Regions from separate parts of the Homo sapiens genome. Here region 2 is linked to region 1. Evidence: promoter capture Hi-C in 16 types of primary human blood cells and fetal thymus (Javierre and others, 2016). All regions are on one chromosome and are shown on one strand. The core of a region is centred on a gene start or on the middle of the fragment in contact, and the rest is flanking DNA. Distances in the headings are between cores, read along the strand shown.

Region 1 (6,982 bases), core at 1,767-4,266:
GCACACCTGTAATCCCAGCTATTTGGGAGGTTGAAGCAGGTGAATTGCTTGAGCCCAGGAGTTCCAGGCTGCAAGGAACTATGATTATTACAACCAGGAATTATGTGCCACTGTACTCCAGCCTGGGCAATGGAGGGAGACCCTGTCTCTACAAAAATAAAACATAATAAAACCAAATGAAACAAGCCACACCTTTAACTCCCTGTGGTCTTCCCTACTCATTTCTCCCTCCTCTGAACTTCCCATCAGCCAGATTGGTTGGAAATGATTAGCAAGACCTAAGTAGTCTTCCCCTGGAGCCTCACAACTTCCTGCTCTGAGGGGCTCCCAGGATGCTTTGCAAATAGTATAAAACCACAGTAAGGATAACTCATGGATGTAAAGCATTTCACATTTTACCTTCTGATCCCCTAACCTGGTATTACTGTTGCTCTTTACAGATGAATTAAAAGAGAGTTAAAGCCTGATCAATGTCAGAGTCAGAGGCAGAGCCAGGCCTGCAATCCAATCCCTAGTTTTTGTTTGTTTTGTTTTCATTTGAGCTCCATCACCCAGGCTGGAGTGCAGTGACGCGATCTCAGTTAGTGGCAGCCTCCGCCTCCCAGGTTCAAGCGATTCTCCTGCCTCAGCCTCCCGAGTTGCTGGGATTACAAGCGGGTACCACCACACCTGGCTAATTTTTTTGTATTTTTAGTAGAGACAGGGTTTCACCATGTTGGCCAGGCTAGTCTTGAACTCCTGACCTCAAGTGATCCACCCACCTTAGCCTCCCAAAGTGTGGGGATTACAGGTGTGAGCCACCGCGCCTGGCCCCTAGTTTGTTTTTCATGGAGACGGTCTCACTATACGGCCCAGGCTGGTCTTCAACTCTTGGCCTCAAGTGTTCCTCCTGCCTTGGATTCCCAAAACACTGGGATTATAGGTGTGAGGCACCATCCCCAGCCCAGTCCCTGGTTTTGAATGCCACCCCTATCCGGATGACTCTTCTCAGGCTCATACCTCTCCTCTAAACTACAGATCCATGTCCTCATTTGCCTCTAGACACCTCCACTTGATGTCTGTTGGCTAGCTCAAACTGATGTGGCCAAAACAGAACTTAAGATCATTCTGTTGATTTTAAATTGTTGAGGTCAAAACTTAGATGTCAGCTGGACGCGGTGGCTCACACCTGTAATCCCGGCACTTTGGGAGACCGTGGCAGGCGGATCACTTGAGGCCAGGAGTTCAAGACCAGCCTGGCCAACATGGTGAAACCTTGTCTCTACTAAAAATACAAAAATGAGCTGGGCGTGTTGGCATCCGCTTGTAATCCCAGCTATTCAGTAGGCTGAGGCATGAGAATTGCTTGAACATGGGTGGCAGAGGTTGCAGTGAGCCAAGATTGTGCCACTGCACTCCAGCCGCACAGAGTGAGACTCTGTCTCAAAAAAAAACAAAAAACAAAAAACAAAAAAAACTTAGATATCCTCCTCAATTCCTCTTTCCTGTGCACCCTACACACATCTGCTAGCTTGCTCTGTCTGCCCTCCCTCCCAAATTACATCCCAAATCTGATCACTGCCCTGCTCCACACCCTAACCTAAATTACCACCCATCAGGCCGGGCATGGTGGCTCACGCCTGTAATCCCAGCACTTTGGGAGGCCAAGATGGGAGGATCACCTGAAGTCAGGAGTTTGAGACTAGCCTGGCCAACATGGTGAAACCCTGTCTCTACTAAAAAAAAAAATTAGCCAGGCATGGTGGCAGGCGCCTGTAATCCCAGCCACTCGGGAGGCTGAAGCAGGAGAATCACTTGAACCCGGGAGGCGGAGGTTGCAGTAAGCCGAGATAGCACCACTACACTCCAGTCTGGACGACAGACCGAGACTCCATCTCAAATAAATAACCACCCATCTTCCCTCAAATGATCTACTACAATAACTTCCCCCTTGCGGTCCACTCTCCATAGACCAGCCAGGATGATGACATTAAAGTGCACATTAAATCTTGTCGCATTTCTCCTGAAAACCCTTCAATGGCCTCCTAGTGCAACTAGAAAAAGACAAGACTCCTTGGCCAGACGCGGTGGCTCACGCACCTTGGGGGGCGAGGCAGGAAGATTGCTTGAGCCCAGGAGTTGGAGACCAGCCTGGGCAACACAGTGAGACCCTGTCTCTAAAAACAAAAACCAAAGAAAACAAGACTCCGTAAGGTGGGTTCCAAGGCCAGACATGAGCTGACCGGAGTCAACCTCTTCACAGTCCACTCTACTTCTTTCCCTCAAACATCCCAGGACTGTAGCTGCCTCAAGGCCTTTGCACCAACGTTTTCCTGTTCAACTCTACTATTCATTCAGGTCTCTAGTCAAGTGTCACCCCCCAGAGCAGCTACCCAGGGTGCAATGTCACCACCACTGCCTCTCCAGTCAACCAAAGCACTATCTGTTTGCTGTACTGCATCTCCCCACCCGCCCACTCCGTAGATTGAGCGCTCTGTGAGAGCAAGGACTTTGTTCACTGCTGGGTCCCCAGAGCAGGGACCAGAACAGGCGCTGGGAAAACATCTGTTGAATGCCCCAGGTACTCCAAAGCCCTTGCTCTTTTCAATCCCAAGCAGGTTCCAAGTCTCCAGCCTTCCAAACCAGGGTTGCCCGGTGCGAAGCCCAGGGGTGAGAGGAACAGGAAGCAGGGCAGATCCGTCCCTGCCCTTAATCCAGGGTGAAGGGTTTAACCTCCAGGACAAGACTTTTGCCGCAGGCTCCAGCTCCTGGCCTAGACTTGGGGCTGGTGCAGGGGACAAGGCGAAGAGTTGAGCCAGGGTCTCGGGAACCCAGCTGCCCTCGCCCCTCTATCCACACCCTATCCCAAGAAATGGTGCGTCCCGCCGCAGGGCGTACGCACAGAGAAGGAAGTGTTCAAGTCTTCCAGTGCGGAGAAAAGAGACTAGGACTCGCCCCTCGACGTCTCGCGGAAGGTACCTGGCTCCCCGGTGGCTGCAGCTCCGGGCTCCTCCTCCTGCGTCCTCGCGTCGCGTACTGCTTGCTGGGATTCGTAGTCTCGCCTTGGCCATCAGTTCGCCCTTCCCAGAGAGCTTTGGGAATCTAAGCCGGGACTGGGCGGAGGGCGGGGAGAAGGTGATGGCGCGCGAGGGCTTCTGGGAGTTGTAGTTTGACATATTCTAACAGCCAGGAATTCTGGAGAAGAAAAATTGGGTAATAAATCTTATCAGATTATCTGGGCTGTCCTGATATGAACCTTTTGAGTTTTTTTCCTCATTCCCAGGATAGGAATACCTCTGTGGTTCAAAACACGAAGGCTGAGATTCAGAGGAACTACAAATCCCATAAAGTGTTGCACGTCTAGGGCCTTTGGGGAACGAGGTCGGCCCCAGCGCAGGCGCGGTGGCGCGAGTTGGACTGTGAAGAAACATGGCGGCCGCGACGTTGACTTCGAAATTGTACTCCCTGCTGTTCCGCAGGACCTCCACCTTCGCCCTCACCATCATCGTGGGCGTCATGTTCTTCGAGCGCGCCTTCGATCAAGGCGCGGACGCTATCTACGACCACATCAACGAGGGGGTGAGGGCCTGTGCCATCCCTGACCTTGGACCCGCCTGAGGGGTGACAGTGGAGTAGAGGTGGGATGGGACTCAGTATACTTTTACCAGGAAGGGGGTAAGGGGTAAACCGTCGGCGTCTTCTGTCTCGAGTCCGCCGTCTGTCCCCTTGGCTTGATGTGAATTCTAAAACGTTAAGCGAGGTTAATATATTTCATTTTGCAGGGGTTGTAAGTATTGCTGTGTGCCACCCTACATACCCACTTGCCCATTATCAGAAGCAAAAACTAAAGGCTAGTGAGAGCAAAGGACTTACTAGCTGCACAGGAAGCCAGGGGCAAGTCAGGGCCAGAAACGGGACCCCTGTCTCTCAGAGTTTCAAGGGCAGATTTGAGCAGGCGACGGTCGTGAAAAGGACGTTAGACACCTTAGACGCCGTGGCTGAAGTTTCAGACGGCGCTTCTGGTCCCCAAGGCTTCCCACGTAGACAGTTGGTATTAATGGTTGAGAGTGGGGGCTATGAAATCAGAAAGCCTTGGATAGGAACACTGGTCCTTGTCACTTAACTGTGGCATTAAGTTGAGCAAGTTTCTTCTCTGAACTCCGTTTTAACTGTGAGATGGAGATATTAATAGTAACCTGAGCACGATTGTGAGGATTACATGAGATGCAGGCAGGGTGCCACATGCCTGGTAGGTGGTACCACTGAAAAATAATCATTGCTTACATTCCTCAGGAGAAAGTGGAAGCATGAGGTAGGAATCGCAACACATTTTTGACTTTTATGTATCATGCACTGTGCTAGGTGCAGTGCATGCTTTATATCGCTAAATTATGACTGTGCTGGAGTAGGCCTTATACATATAGCCCTGTTCCACCACTCACTTGTGTTTTTAATTTGAGACTGTCTGACTCTGCAGCCCGGGAAGGCACTGTCCACTAGTGCTATGCTGCCTGTGACCAGTGCAACTTCCTGCCCCATATGAAAGCATTGCTACTGTCCCATCTCTTGCAAGTGGTTCTGTTAACCACTCCCATTGATCTGGAGAGACATCCAAGTATGTTGTTATAACTCACCCATTTTCCTTGTGCTTTTTTTTGTTTTGTTTTGTTTTTTTGAGACAGGATCTCACTCTGTCGCCCAGGTTGGAGTGCAGTGGCATGATCACAGCTCACTGCAGCCTTGACCTCCTGGGTTCAAGTGATCTTCCCACCTCAGCCTCCTGAGTAGCTGGGACCACAGGCATGCGCCACCACGCCCAGCTAATTTTTGTATTTTTTGTAGAGATGGGGTTTCACCATGTTGCCCAGGCTGGTCTTGAATTCCTGAGCTCAGGCAGTCCTCCTGCCTTAGCCTTCTAAAGTACTGGGATTACAGGCGTGAGCCACTGTGCTCAACCTCTTGTGCTTCTGGGAATGAGAATTTCAGCCAATTTAGGTCCCAGGAAATGTCTTAAATGGCTCATGGTGAAATATTTTGGGACTACGCACTTATAATCTCTTCAGTAATACCTGGGAGTTGAAGAACTGAGACATCTTCCAGGCTGTTTTCCTTAATAATTGTGTGTTTTGGGGCACTTCCCTCAATCTCAAACTGAATTTCCTGTGAAATTAAGATCACCCCTTTCCACTTACTTCACCTGGTGATTGAAAGCATCATAGTATTTTATAAATGCCAAGAATTATGCATGAAGGCTCGGCGCGGTGGCTCACACCTGTCATCCCAGCGCTTTGGGAGGCCAAGGCAGGCAGATCACTTGAGGTCAGGAGTTTGAGACCAGCTTGGCCAACATGGCGAAACCCCATCTCTACTAAAAATACAAAAATTAGCCGGGTAGCGCATACCTGTATTCCCAGCTGCTCTTGAAGCTGAGGCAGGAGAATCGCTCGAACCCAAGAGGCTGAGGTTGCAGTGAGCCGAGATTGCGCCACTACACTCCAGCCTGGGCGATAGAGCGAGTCTCCGTCTCAAAAAAAAAATGTGCATCAAGCATAGGATTGCTTCGAGTTTGCCCACCACAAGTGTATCTTTTTAATCAGGACATGGCATGTGTTTCCCCCAAGCTCATTTTAGAGACCAGGGCAGTGGGAGTAGTTGTAAAATGTGAGAGGCAAAGGTCAAAGTTTGTGGCTCTTGTCTTTAAAATGCAGAAGCTGTGGAAACACATCAAGCACAAGTATGAGAACAAGTAGTTCCTTGGAGGCCCCCATCCAGGCCAGAAGGACCAGGTCCACCCAGCAGCTGTTTGCCCAGAGCTGGAGCCTCAGCTTGAAGATGATGCTCAAGGTACTCTTCATGGACCACCATTCGCTGTTGGCAAGAAACGGCTTTACTTACAAAACAGACTCTTTACCTTCTGCTGTGTTTGAAGTATGTTTAGTCAGCATGCTCAGGAAATAAATGTGAATTGCCCTTGAGACCTGCTTCTACATTGGTTGCTTTGTTAACTCTACCTGATCTTCACTTGTCAGTAATTTGAGACCACTTCAAAGCCCTCTGCAAACACCCCAAAGGCAGAATCTGCTATTTTGAGTTTTCCATTAACTTCCAAAGAATTCTGGTTTTCAAAACAGGAGCCAGAGTTGGAGATATTACAGTCAACTTTGGCTTCTAAGCCAGTAATTCCATTCTTAAATACCTCACTGTCTTGGCCATGGGGAAGCACTATGGCCTCAGCTGGGGGAAAGACCCTGGCCTAGGGGTCTTAGCCACTCCCCACCCTAGGGTATAGTTCAGGGGTATCCAATCCTTTGGCTTCCCTGGGCCATGTTGGAAGAATTGTCTTGGGCCACACATAAAATACAGTAACCATAGCTGATGAGCTAAAACAAAAAACAATGGTTTGTGCAAAAATCTCATAATGTTTTAATAAAGTTGAAGAATTTGTGTTTGGGCCTCATTCAAAGCCATCCTGGGCTGCGTGCAGCCTGCAGGCCACGGGTTGGACAAGCTTGGTGTATTCTGCCTATTACTGAGTATCTTTTGGTAAGCAGTCATACCTCTCTGGGTCACAGCCTCCTGCCACAGTTCCACTCTGATGAGTTCAGTTCATAAAAGTGCTTAGTTGGTGGGTTTGAATCCTTACTCCACTGATTCTAGCTATGGGAACCAAGGTGATATGGTTTGGCTGTGTCCCCACCCAAATCTCGTTTTGAATTGTAGCTCCCATAGTGCCCATGTGTTGTGGGAGGGACTCGGTGGGAGATAATTGAATCATGGGAGCGGTTCCCCCACACTGTTCTCGTGATAGTGAATAAGTCTCACGAGATCTGATGATTTTATAAGGGGTTTCCCCTTTTGCTTGGCTCTGATTCTCTTGCCTGCTGCCATGTAAGACGGGCCTTTCGCCTTCCACCATGATTGTGAGGCCTCCTCAGCCATGTGGAAATGCGAATGCATTAAACCTCTTTTTATAAATTACCCAGTCTCGGGTATGTCTTTATCA
Region 2 (6,982 bases), core at 2,019-4,518, 820 kb after region 1:
GCACGGTCGCCAGCAACTGTAATCCTAGCTACTCGGGAGGCTGAGGCAGGAGAATCGCTTGAACCTGGGAGGTGGAGGTTGCAGTGAGCTGAGATCACGCCAATGCACTCCAGCCTGGCCAACAGAGTGAGACTCTGTCTCCGGGGAAAAAAAAAAAAAAAGTGGGCCAGGTGAGCCACAAAGGCCAGGGACCGCCAGAGGGCAGGGCCCACAGGCCACAGTGAAGTCTTATTTTGACTCTATGAGGAATGAGAACCCCTAGTTGCAGGATCAGGGGTCTCTTCTACCAGATAGGAGGGGATGGATGGCAGGGACCCAGCCCAGCCCATCCCAGCCCAGCTAGCCCATCCTGACAATCCAGTTCAGTTCTCCTCCATTTTCCCTTGGACCACACCTAGCAAACACAACTCACTAAAGCAAGGGCGGTGAGAAAGAGAAGGAATACCAGAACCCCAGAATGGGTATGGCAACTCAGGTAAGACAGGGATGCAGCTGAGTTTTCAATGTGCAATTCACTGCCCGGGCTTCCCACGGTCCCTCTATATTCACCTAAAGTCAGCCAAGCTCAGCTGGAGCTTCTTCCGGGCTTTGTTCCGGGTGATGTAGTTGGTGGCCGAGCCTCGTTCATACTGGGAGAGGAAAAAAACAATTCTCCATTAGCAATGATTGTAGTGACTGACATCAAACTCTGGGCATGCCTAGTTCCAGAGGCAACTATCACTCTGGATAAGTGGCTGAGATGAGTCTAGGAGAGGAAACACTGCAGGGAAGGAGCCGACCTGCCTGGATGAGCTCTCCTGTACCATCCTTGCGGCTGTCAGCATAGGGAACACATACATCTGCATGATGCTGAGGGCTGCGAGGCTGCTACGGATAGGGTGCTGTGCCAAGTGCTTAGCACTAGCTCTAAATGTTGGCCATTACAATTAGTGATTTTCACACATTTCATTTAATTCCCATAACCCTGTGATGTAGGTGCTGTCCGAACGTCCATTTCACATAGGAGAAAACGGGCTCGTAAAATAACCCATGCAACTCTTAAAAAGCACACAGCTTTTTAAGAGTTGGGGCTGGGATTCAAACTCAGGTCTGAGTCCAGTACCTGAATGCCTAATAGCTAAGCCAGTGTTCCTAATCTTTTCCCCTTCTTTTCTTCCTCATTATAACCTCTTCACCACTACCAGGAGACTTATTAGACACCCCCTTCCTCCCTCACCCATCACCCTTTCTTCCCTATGCCCCATAAAATGTTAATACCAGAGATATACTGTAGGTCTGTTTATGTAATGTAGTCCTTGGGGAGCCACAACCATTGTAATAGCTAAGATACTGCCCCTCAACCAATTTTGTTCCCTTGAGGGTGGTATTACCCTGGCTGAAAAAGCATGCTCTAAGCCACACAGCTTCTCCCCTTCCTCATTCATTCATTCAACAGACAATAACAGGTCCTCTATTATGGTCAAAGCACTAAGCTAGATGCTATGAAGGCAATAAAGACAAAAAGCCTGGTCTCTACCTGCCCCTAAGAAGCCTATTGTCTTGTATAACCATCTGGATGCCTGTGGTGCTAAGATGCTGCCTCACACCCACATTTCTGTATCCCTCACACTTCTGTATCCCTCGATAGAGACAATCAGTGCACTGTAACAAATACCCTGCAAGCTAACAAGCATGTCGTTTCCAAACAAGATCTTCCTCTGGACTAAGACAGCAGGGGCCTCTTTGGCTAGGTTCAGCTCTAAAGAGACAAACCTGTTAGTCTCCCACAGGTACGTTTACTAATAACATCATAGTCATGAAACATACCCTTCATTCATTCTTTCCTTTAGACATTAATTGTCTATTAGGTATTAGGCCCATGCTAAGTCTTGGAGGTATAAAGATGAGTTTCAGACTGCCTTAAGAAGTTGAGTTTTCATTTATAGCGTTTTCCATTACCTTATGCCACACTTATCTCTGTCACCATGCTTATCCTTATAAATGTTAAGGGAATAAATAGTTCTCAATGGGGTACTCCCTGGGTATGTGCTGGGGGGAGGAGAGTTCAGCAATGTTTGGAGACATTTTTGGTTGCTGGGTGCTACTGGTATCCAGTAGGTAAAGGATCAGGGATGTTGCCAAATATCCTACTACACACAAGACAATCCTTCCCACAACAAAGACTCATCTTTGTTGATTCTGGCTCTGAAACCCAGCTTTTAAAAACTGTAACGATTTTGTTACATATCTACATCTGCAACTCAAGGGCAGGTTTTCCATCTTGTATCTTTGCAGTTCCGATGGCTAGCACTGGATACTCAATGTAGTGTGTTGGGTTAAGAACACTGGCAATAGAAACTTTCACTCTGAAAGAAACACTTAAGCCAACTATATATTCCTCATTCCCATTCCCTTCCCAGTCTTTTCATGTCACTGGGCCGATTCTCCATACAGCCACAAGAACTCCCTGAAAAACTCTAATCGTGTTACTCCTCCTTTTTTTCCTACTGCACGTAGAATAAAATCCAAGCTCTACACTATTCCTACTGCACTTAGAATAAAATCCAAGCTTACAGGCCTTGCACGATACAGTACGTGTCCAACCCCAATCTTATCAGATGCCATTCTTTTCTTGGTTTACATGCGAGTCATCCTAATGTCCTTCCAACTCCTTACACACAGCAAGCCTTCCCTGCCTACTGATCTTGGCACTTGGTTTCCCTTGTCAGGCCTGCTCGCTAAGCACTCCCATGCCCCAGAACCCATCCAAGACGTTCTGATCTTTCCCATTTCAGCCGAAATGTTATGCCTCGAAGAGAACTTCCAAGACAACACTAACCAACTAATGTAACGGTGCAGTAACGGTGAGCTCTACGTAATGTTTATCACCCTTTCGGTAAATAGTGGTCCCACGGCTCGGCCTGCTTTTGGAATGAAGCTACGCTTGGTAAGTTCAACTCTCTTTCACAGCCCTCTCCACAGAAAGAACTCTGGAGTTCGTTCTCGGATTTCACTAAACGAATACTGCCATCCTTGTCCATTCTCGGACCCCTTCTCGCAGCTGATTACGGTCACGTCGATCCCGTCTTTCCAGTCTCCACGAGACGGAGCCCGGGAAAAGAGTCGACCCCATGCTCTGCCGCCCCCGCACCCCACCCCTCGGGAATCCCCACCGTCTTTCCCAATCACCTTCTTCTTCTCAAGGCCTCCCATCGCTCCACGTTGAGGAGCCGACTAGGGCCGCGCGTACAGGGAGCTCCACTTCCTCCCGCACGTGCCCTGCCAAGGACCCCGAGGACCCTCCCCACCCCACGCTGTCTGTTTGTGCGGGCTGCCCAATGAGATGCCTGTACAAGTCCAGGGAAAGATGGGGATTTCCTCCTCAAGATTTAAAACTATAGTCTGAAAAAAATCACTGAGAACACTCTTTCCAGATCTTTCCCGCTCACAATGGTTACAAACACTTTAAGTGTTAAAACAAACGTGGATATACAGGCTTTTCTGTAATCACCCTGATGACGATTCATTGACTGTGAGCCTCGTTGCATGTTGGGACGGAGAGGGGCGGAAGGCTTAGGGACAGCGCGGTGCCTTCTGGGATGCAGAGGGGCGCCGCACTCCATGGTGCGCGATAGGATTGCGTTGTCAAGGTAACGGTTGCTAAGCGTCGTCAGACTTCGGCTGCCGCTGCTGAGAAGCGGTTCCCGAGGGGCAGGGTGAGACTGCGCTGAGTTCCCACCGGCTTCGGGTTCTCTTTGGTTCATTCGCGGTTATGCGGCTAAAATAGAAAAAAGGAAGACATTTTTCCTCGCGGAGGTATAGAGATCCTAGAGGCCACTTATATTTTCTGAGCCTTAGTGGTGGACTCGTGGTATATTTAAAATGTACATTCAAGGCTGGGAGCGGTGGCGCACGCCTGTAATCCCAGCACTTTGGGAGGCCAAGACAGGCGGATCATCTGAGGTCAGGAGTTCGAGACCAGTGTGACCAATATAGTGAAACCCCGTCTCTGCTAAAAATACAAAAATTAGCTGGCCATGGTGGCACACGCCTGTAATCCCAGCTACTCGGGAGGCTGACGCAGGAGAATCGCTTGAACCTGGGAGGCAGAGGTTGCAGTGAGCCGAGATCTTGCCACTGCACTCCAGCCTGGGCGACAGAGTGAGACTCCATCTCAAAAATAAATAAATAAATAAAATTAAATGTACATTCAACATATTCGAGCTTTTAATTTGTACACATAAATTCTGTAAGTGTTCCTCAAATAATAATTCCAAGATTTATACAAATAGTCACATCACCTTGAGATGGTGCAGTCTGGAAGTAGATGCAATTTTAAGAGGTTTTTTTTTTTTTAAACGTTTCTCCCTTTTTCCAAATTCCAAATTTCGTTCGAAGATGATCTCAAAAGTTTAAATTTGAGGCTCTTGTGAATGTGACCTGGCCCAAGGACTTGGTCTTAGAACTTACACAGAGACAGACGTTAAGCACTGGTGAATACTTGTTTTGAACTATGTGACTTGCACTATCTAATTTAAAGCTAAAATTTAAAACCCAGCAATTCCACAGTTAAAAATGAGATGAAGCCGGGCACGGTCGCTCACACCTGTAATCCCAGCACTTTGAGAGGCTGAGGCAGGCGGATCACCTGAGATCAGGAGTTTGAGACCAGCCTGGCCAACATGGCGAAAACCCATCTCTACCAAAAATACAAAAATTAGCCGGGTGTGGTGGCAGGCACCTGTAACCCCAGCTAGTTGGGAGGCTGAGGCAGGAGAATTTATTGAACCCAGGAGGTAGATGTTGCAGTGAGCCAAGATTGTGCCACTGCACTCTGCACTCAAGCCTAGACGACAGAGCGAGGCTCCATCTCAAAAAAAAAAAGAAGAAGAAGGAAAGGGATGGACTGGAGAGGGTGGCAGTGGCTGGCTCATGAGGGCAACACAGGAACAGGGCTGGTGTCGTGAGCATGTGGCCTGGGCAGTCATCTCACCCTGTCCCTCACAAATCACCTAGCTCGTCCTGCACAGATAGAACCATGTTTGCAGAAAGTTGAGCCTTGTTTTGCTCACATTAATGTTGAGGGGTCACTGGAAGACACAGGTGGGGATGTTCAGGGAAGCAATTGTAATTTCAGCTCAAAATAGCCGTCATATAGGTACCACATTTCACAAGGGAGGAAACTAAGTCTCAGGAAAGTAAGTGATCGCTGAAGATCACTCAGCTGCTAAGCTGTGCAGAATAGATTCTCACCAAGCAGTCTGGTTTCAGAGTCCTCTGCTAAACTCACATTCCACTACCTAACGTATAGTAGAAAGAATGTTATGTGACTCCAGGATAATGCCAGGTAGATTTTTGTTCCATAAAGGGAAGAGGTTTTTAACCATTAGGGCTGCCCACACACAGAATGCTTTGTGCAATACCAAGCCTCCATCAGCATTACGGTGAAAAGCCCAGTCTCTGCAGGGAGACACACCTGGTTTACCTCTAAGCCTCGGACAAGCCACTTTACCTCAGGGTACCTCTCTTCCTCATTTGTAAGATGGGGTCAACACTAACTGCATAAAGTAGTTGTTGCTTTAAGTATGTTTACATTGTTTCATTTAAAACAAAAATTTGCTGGGCATGGTGACACACGCCTGTAATCCCAGCACTTTGGGAGGCCAAGGTGGGTGGATCACCTGAGGTCAGGAGTTCAAGACCAGCCTGGCAAATATGGTGAAACCCCATCTCTACTAAAAATACAAAAATTGTCTGGGCGTGGTGATGCACACCTGTAATCCCAGCTACCAGCGAGGCCAAGGCAGAAAAATCACCTGAACCTGGGAGGCAGAGGTTGCAATGAGCCAAAATTGTGCCATTGCACTGCAGCCTGTGCAACAGAGAGACTCTGTTTCAGAAAAAAAAAATTAGCTTGGCACGGTGCCTCACACCTGTAATCCTAGCCTTTTGGGAGGCAAAGGTGGGAGGATTGCTTGAGCTCAGGAGTTCTAGACCAGCCTGGGCAACATAGTGATACCTTGTCTCTACTAAACTGTGCCCCGCCTTAAAAAAAAAAAAAAAACACAGCCAGGCATAGGGCCAGGTTCCTGTAGTCCCAGCTACTCAGAAGCTGAGTGGGGAGGATCACTTGAGCCCAGGAGTTTGAAAGCAGCCTGGACAACATAGTGAGACCCTCATCTCTACAAAAGGAAAACTTATTTTTAATTAGCTGGTGTGGTAGTGTGTACCTGTGGTCCCAGCTACTCGTGGTCCCAGCTACTCAGGAGGCTGAGGCAAAAGGATCGCTTGGGCTCAGGAGGTTGAGGCTGCAGTGAGGTGTGTTCACGCCGCTGCACTCTGGCCTGGGTGATAGAGAGACTGGCTCTCTACATAAACAAACGAACAAACAAATAAATAAAAAGTCTCCTGTCCAAATTTATAGATTCTCATGATTTTTCAGTTAACATATCTCATAATGAGAGTGAGATTCTAAAGTCACCCCAGATTTGTTTCCTCCTGTTGCCCTGGACAATGCCTGGCACCAACAAGGACTCTTTAACAAAGTCCCCTTGCTCCTGATCACTCTGGGAAAGGGTCTGGGTAAGTCCTATCAGAATCCAAGATCTCCTGCTTGAGGTTAAAGAACTCGGAGACTGGCTGGGCGCGACAGCTCATGCCTATAATCCCAGCACTTTGGGAGGCCAAGGCGGGTGGATCACGAGGTCAGGAGTTCGAGGCTAGCCTGGCCAATATTGTGAAACCTCGTCTCTACTAAAAATACAAAAATTAGCCGGGCAAGGTGGTGCTTGCCTGTAGTCCCAGCTACTCAGGAGGCTGAGGCAGAAGAATGGCTTGAACCCAGGAGATGGAGGTTGCAGTGAGCCAAGATTGCACCACTGCACTCCAGCCTGGGCGACAAGAGTGAGACAGTGTCTCAAAAAAAAAAAAAAAAAAAAAAAGATCTTGGAGACTTTATTTCTTCCCAGCTGGGTTCCCATCATTGGTGGACCCTGGAGGGAAC

What was found. The method cuts DNA at HindIII sites, captures the fragments that hold promoters and counts their contacts. A CHiCAGO score of 5 or more calls a contact.
Region 2: a contact is called between the fragment with the promoter of PES1 here and the fragment with the promoter of ZMAT5 in region 1, in 3 of 17 cell types (fetal thymus, non-activated CD4 T cells and total CD4 T cells). The highest score is 7.1, in fetal thymus.

Annotation. Positions count from the first base shown.
Region 1 is chr22:29,763,991-29,770,972 of GRCh38, forward strand. It overlaps ZMAT5 (zinc finger matrin-type 5), which reads right to left and starts at 3,017. Exons shown (of 6, transcript NM_001003692.2): 1 at 2,882-3,017. It overlaps UQCR10 (ubiquinol-cytochrome c reductase, complex III subunit X), which reads left to right and starts at 3,379. Exons shown (of 2, transcript NM_013387.4): 1 at 3,379-3,558; 2 at 5,688-6,423. The coding sequence starts at 3,409. The coding sequence ends at 5,729. RefSeq lists enhancers at 2,252-2,901, 2,871-3,100, 2,902-3,551, 3,461-3,510. The HindIII fragment of the contact is 8,045 bases long and covers 1-6,485 here.
Region 2 is chr22:30,588,642-30,595,623 of GRCh38, forward strand. It overlaps PES1 (pescadillo ribosomal biogenesis factor 1), which reads right to left and starts at 3,269. Exons shown (of 15, transcript NM_014303.4): 1 at 3,169-3,269; 2 at 550-629. The coding sequence starts at 3,192. RefSeq lists enhancers at 3,097-3,812, 3,292-3,591, 3,812-3,891. The HindIII fragment of the contact is 19,848 bases long and covers 2,547-6,982 here.